2 separate regions of the Homo sapiens genome follow, and region 2 is linked to region 1. The links are contacts of gene promoters, found by promoter capture Hi-C in human tissues and cell types (Jung and others, 2019). All regions are on one chromosome and are shown on one strand. The core of a region is centred on a gene start or on the middle of the fragment in contact, and the rest is flanking DNA. Distances in the headings are between cores, read along the strand shown.

Evidence for each region. Contacts are between HindIII fragments. The study calls those that stand out against the background at their distance.
Region 2: a contact is called between a fragment that was not itself captured here and the fragment with the promoter of SNX15 in region 1, in 1 of the 25 tissues and cell types used here (aorta).

Annotation. Positions count from the first base shown.
Region 1 is chr11:65,025,807-65,028,885 of GRCh38, reverse strand. It overlaps SNX15 (sorting nexin 15), which reads right to left and starts at 1,447. Exons shown (of 8, transcript NM_013306.5): 1 at 1,250-1,447. The coding sequence starts at 1,348. ARL2-SNX15 (ARL2-SNX15 readthrough (NMD candidate)) reads right to left here. Exons shown (of 11, transcript NR_037650.2): 4 at 1,250-1,568. It also overlaps the pseudogene EEF1A1P18. RefSeq lists a silencer at 1,316-1,485 and an enhancer at 1,335-1,629. The HindIII fragment of the contact is 29,710 bases long and covers 1-3,079 here.
Region 2 is chr11:64,864,210-64,867,288 of GRCh38, reverse strand. The region is part of intron 2 of EHD1 (EH domain containing 1); the gene reads left to right. Among named protein-coding and RNA genes, the nearest start is that of MIR10392, 13 kb to the left of the region's middle. RefSeq lists an enhancer at 1,168-1,467. The HindIII fragment of the contact is 8,078 bases long and covers 1-3,079 here.

The DNA of each region.
Region 1 (3,079 bases), core at 198-2,697:
TCCTGACCTCGTGATCCGCCCGCCTCGGCCTCCCAAAGTGCTGGGATTACAGGCGTGAGCCACCGCGCCCGGCCACCACTGGGAAGACTTATAATAAAAGGTTACAGTTCCTTGCCACATCCTCCCCACCCCAGCCCCACCTCCAGTCTATCTTCCCAGGGACAATCTATTTATTTGCTTTTTTTTTTTTTTTTTTTAAAGTTGTGTGTGTGTCTGTATTTTAATATTGATCCGGGGTCTCACTATGTTGCCCAGGCTCGTCTTGAGCTCCTGAGCTCAAGCAATCTGCTGCCTCAGCCTCCCAAAGTGCTGGGATTTACAGGCATGAGCCACTGAGCCCGGCCTTATTTGCATTATTTTTAGGCATGGAAAAGACGTAAACGGTTTGGGGAAAGCATATTTTAAATAGCTAAGATTCTGCACTTAGATCACTTTGGAAGTGTCCTTATGTGCCTGCTTTGCTTTTAGAGTTAACTAATGCACCAGCTTAATAGTCGCCTGGTTGAAAATTCTAAAAGTACAAAAAATTTACAGTAAAAAGTCTTCCCCTAACTCCTGTCCCCAGTGACACAGTTCCTCTCCCTGGGGACCTTCCTTGTTACCAGTTCTTGTTATCATTCTACAGGTGTCCTGTTTTACTGTTTCATTTTTAATTATTGTCATGGTTTCCTCCATGTCTCTCTATAAATTGTGCTTATGATGTTGTTATCGCTTCATATATCAACTCTAGCCTATCTATCTTCCTGCTGTGACCTTGATATGGCGACTTACTCCTTAAGTCCTTCTGAACTGCATCAATTTTTTTCAACCACTGATCAGTATTATTTTTTGAAAAATTAAAAATGGTTAAACTCGTTAAAGGGAGTTTATGTAACATCAAACAAACCAATAAACAAAACTTACTCTACGAGAATGGAGTACTAATATTTGGATTAAACCAGAGTTTTCATGTTAATTTAGAGAAATTCACAGCCTGATGCCCAGACACTACACTCCGGGCGTGGGCATACACGCCTTGCCTGTCCGGGAACGGCCGTCAACGCCCTTTTAAAAAAGACAGCGCCCACCCAGGACCCCGCCCCCTGGTGGTTAAAGATGTAAACTAAGCCTCGTACTGCAACCTCCCCTTAAAGGGGAAACCCATTTCTGTCGTCTAAAAAGGGAGCAGTGGCTGCACCGCCTTTCCTTAAGGTAAAACTCGGCGCCCCTCTAGTTAAAAGGGTAAAGTACGCGCTGGGCCCCACCTCACCTGCGCGGTTACTTTGTACTCGGTGTAGCCCTTGGGGTGAGTCCTGGGGTCCGACACTGTGTAGTGCCGCAGGAAGTCATCCTTCGCCTGGCGGGACATGAAACCGAGCTGGAGCGGAGCGGAGCGCCGGCCTCCACCTCCTCGCCGTCCCCACCCCTCCGGCCCAGCCTCCGCCCGCCGCCGCCTCGCCAGGCCTGCGCTCTTCTTCCTCTGGCCTAGGGATTTTGTCGCAAGTGACAGCGCTGTTCCGATCCCGGGTGCGCGGCCAAGGGAGCGTCTGAAAAGTTCCTTCTCTGTGGTGAAGCGTAAACCCAGGTCACTGGAAAGATTGGTTGGGAAGGCTGGGATCACTCGTCTCATTTCTGCCGGGTGATCAAGCCCACCCTATCCAAGCGTAAACCCTTGTCACAGACTTCCAAACGACTTCTCCCCGCTTCCTAAATCCCTGCTTTCGTTCATCCACCCAACTCTTATTGTGTCCAGTATGTACAGGACAACGTCAAATTATTTCCCTGTCTCCCTCCACAGGATTCCCTAATTCATGTTTTCTGGAAAGTAGAGGAAGCAAAGAAGGTTGGAGAAGCAGGATGGTGTCATGGGCTCTGAGTCACGACTCTTACTAGCTGTAGGAGTTTCCCTTAACTACTCAGCCTCAGTTTCTCATCTGTAGAATGGAGATGTTTATAATAGAATCTGTGTAGGGCAGTGGAGCTTTTTTGCGATGGGTTTGCTGCCAGAACACAGGTGTCGTGAAAACCACCGTTAAATCAAAGCCAAAATGGGGGTTTGGCGCGGTGGTTCACGCCTGTAATCCCAGCATTTTGGGCAGTGGAGGCAGGTGGATCACTTGAGGTCAGGAGTTCAAGACCAGCCTGGCCAACATGGTGAAACCCCGTTTCTACTAAAAATACAAAAATTAGCTGGGCGTGGTGGCGCACGCCTGTAATTCCAGCTACTCCAGGGGCTGAGCTGGCTGATGGCTTCAGCCCAGGAGGTTGAGGCTGCAGTGAGCTGCAATCACACCACTGCACTCCAGCCTGGGCAACAGAGTGAGACTCCATCTCAAAAGAAAGGGAGCAGGGGAGGGAAAAGACTCAGCTCAACATCATCATCTGATTTGGGCAAGTCCAGCACTACTGGCCATCTGATCTACAAGTGTGGTGGGATCCACAAAAGAACCATCGACAATTTTGAGGAAGCTGCTGAGATGGGAAAGGGCTCCTTCAAGCATACCTGGGTCTTGGGTAAGCTGAAAGTTGAACGTGAGAGTGGTATCACCACTGATACCTCCCTGCTGGCAATTGAGACCAGCAAGTACTATGTGACCATCCTCAATGGCCCAGGATGCAGAGACTTTATCAAAAACCTGACCTCAGGCTAATTGTGCTGTCCTGATTGTTGCTGCTGGTGTTGATGAATTTGAAGCTGGTAATTCCAAGAATGGGCAGACGCGTGAGCACACCCTTCTGTCTTACACGCTGGGTGTGAAACTAATTGTTGGTGTTAACAAAATGGATCCCAATGAGCCACCCTAAAGAGGAGAGATGGGGGCCGGGCGTGGTGGCTCACGCCTGTAATCCCAGCAGTTTGGGAGGCAGAGGTGGGTGGATTAGGAAGTCAGGAGTTCAAGACCAGCCTGACCAAGATGGTGAAACCCCGTCTCTACTAAAAATACAAAAATTAGCTGGGCATGGTGGCGGGTGCCTGTAATCCCAGCTACTTGGGAGGCTGAGGCAGAGAATTGCCTGAAACCAGGAGGCAGAGGTTGCAGTGAGCTGAGATCGTGCCACTGCACTCCAGCCTGGGAGACAGAGGACAGAGTGAGACTCC
Region 2 (3,079 bases), core at 404-2,903, 160 kb after region 1:
TGGCACCATCCCTGGCTAATTTTTGTATTTTTAGTGGAGATGGGGTTTCACCATGTTGGTCAGGCTGGTCTCGAACTCCTGACCTCAGGTGATCAGCCCGCCTTGGCCTCCCAAAGCACTGGGATTACAGGTGTGAGCCACTGCGCCCGGCCTCATTTTAACCACGTTTTTTGGTCATGGACCCCAGAAAAGTAGATTTTAACTATTTGTAGGTGTGCATTTCACTGGCATTTAGCACATTCTTCATTGTTCAGCCGTCACCACCATCCAGCTCCAGAGCTCTTCACTTCCCAAATGGACACTCTTCCTGTTCAACACCAGCTCCCCTCGTGGCTCCCTGCACCCCGCAGCCCCTGCACTCCCCATTCTATATTCCTTTTCTGTGCACTTGATTACTCCTGGTATCTCCTGTCAGTGGAATCCTACAGTGCCGTATCTGTCCTTTTGTGGCAGGATGTTTTAAAAAAACTTTTAGGTTCAGGAGTACATGTACAGGTTTGTTATACAGGTAAATGGAGTGTGGTGGGGTTTGGTGTATAGATTATTTCATCACCCAGGTAATAAGCGTAGTATCTGATAGGTAGTTTTTCTTTTCTTTTTTTTTTTTTGGAGACAGGGTCTCACTCTGTCACCCAGGCTGGGAGTGCAGTGGCACAATCACAGCTCACTGTAGCCTCCACCTCCCGGGCCCAAACAATCCTCTTACCTCAGTGTCCCAAGTAGCTGGGAATACAGATGCATGCCACCACACCCAAATTTTTTTAAATTTTTGTAGAGGGGGGTCTCGCTATGTTACCCAGGCTGGACTCAAGCAGTCCTCCTGCCTCAGCCTCCCAGAGTGCTGCGATTACAAGCGTGAGCCACCATGCCCAGCCTGCTAGGCAGTTTTTCTGTCCTCACCCATTCCACCCTCAAGTAGGCCCTGGTGTCTGTTGTTCTCTTCTTTGTTGCCATGTGTACTCAATGTTTCACACCCATGGATGAGTGAGAACATGCGGTATTTGGTGTGGAACATGCGGTATTTGGTTTTCTATTCTAGTGTTAGTTTGCTGAGGATAATGGTCTCCAGCTCCATCCATGTTGCTGCAAAGGTCATGATCTTGTTCCTTTTTATGGGTGGATAGTATTCTCTGTGGTATATGTACCATGTTTTCTTTATCCAGTCTACTGTTGATGGGTATTTAGGTGGATTCCATCTTTGCTATCGTGAATAGTGCTGCAATGGACGTATGTGTGCATGTGTCCTTATGGCAGAATGATTTCTCTTCCTTAGGGTTTATGCCCAGTAATGTGATTGCTGAGTCGAATGGTAGTTCTGTTTTAAATTCTTTGAGAAATTGCCAAGCTGCTTTTCACAGTGGCTGAACTGGTTTACATTCCCACCAGCAGCGTATAAATGTTCCCTTTTCTCTGCAACCTCACCAGCATCTGTTATTTTTAGACTTTTTAATAATAGCCATTCTGACTGTTATGAGATGTTGTCTCATTGTGGTTTGATTTGCATTTCTCTAATGATTAGTGATGCTGAGAGTTTTTTCATATGCTCGTTGGCCGCGTGTGTGTCATCTTTGGAAAAGGTCACAGACTTATTTCATCACTTAGCATCATGTCTTCTAGGTCCCAGGATTTTCTGAGCTAGAGCTTCCTGGTGGCTTATGATCCCTTATCAGAGGGGGCTCTGGCTTTTACTCACTAAAACCACTCCCTCTGCAGGTGGGCCTTTCTCTCCAGCCCACCCGCTTGGGCCATGTTTTCTGTGTCCTTTTGCTCGGCATCAGTTCTGTCACTCCCACTGGGGCCTGAGCTAGTCAAGCTAACAGCAAGGCCCCTACCTTGGTGGGTGCCAAAGCCTGAAGTCTTGTTGCCTTGGGCAGTGCCGGGGGTGCTGGCAAGCCCTGTTCTGTACTTGATACCGGCCGTCCAGCTCTGATCTAGAGAGTGGCTCAGTGTTACCGCTGTGCAGTGTAGCCTTTGGCACCTCTTGAAACCCGGCGTCTTTTAGGCTGAGTGAGGTGCCTTTGAGGGCAGCGAGGGCCTGGTGGGCTAAGGAGCGCCGGTGGGCCTGGTGGGGCGTGCAGTTACGTGGTCACTGCCTGCATGGCACAGGCCTGAGTGCTGTGGCCCTTTTTGTCACCTGTGGGTGTGGCTGGCCAGTCACTGTGTTTCCCTCACAGCAAAAGCACATTTTCTGTAATAAACAGGAAATTTTAGTCACCTGCAAAGAAATGGGCTTACCTCTGTTGACTCCAGCTTGAGATGACGGCCAGTAACTGGGTTTCAGAGCAGGTGGGGCAGGGCTTCTGGACCTGGGGCAGGGAGTTTTGGAGTGCTCACTCTTCTTTCTTCCTTCCCCTCCTTTTTCTCTCTTTCCCCAGGGCCCCCCAGCCATCCAGGGGGAGGGGGGAGTGGGGCCTTGCTGGGTGGAGTTTGGGAGGGTGACCTCAGCTCCCCAGGCGCCGTCCTGACTCCCAGGCCAAAGCTAACATGGGCTGAGCACAGCCCATCAGGGCGCCCTCATTCCCAAGAACTCGGTTTTGGCATCACAGCCTCCCCAGCTGTGTGAATTCTAGTTTCAGCTTGTGGCGGGCTGAAGACAAATGATTTGACAAGGGGAGAAGCTGGGCCCCCTTTTTGCTGAGCGAGGAACCTCAGTCCTTGAGTCATCGCCTTTTCAGTACTGACCTGCGTTCCCAGAGCTGGCCATAAAAGGCTGTGGGCTGCGGGCCCCAGGCAGGCGCTGCAGGCTTAGCTAGTGTGGCCTCATCCCCCGGGGGCAGAGGCGGCCTCTCCCTGCCCCTGTTTCCCTCATGTTGCCCTTGGCCTCTCTTTCTGGTTTTCTGCCGAGACTTCACTCTTTGGGCATCCTCTCCTGTGGAGCTCAGAGCCAGCTGCAGGGAGTCCGGGTGCCCGGGGCCTTGTACTTTGGAAGCAGGAGCCTGTGGTGGCATGAGGTGCCCTGGCACGATGCCCTTCCACACCTTCTGGGCACAGGGAACCTGGCAGCTCTGCTGTCTCCGACCATCCACCTGAGCCTCTGGAAGGCTGATCGGGCCTCCCCGTCCAGGCTGGAGGCCAGGAC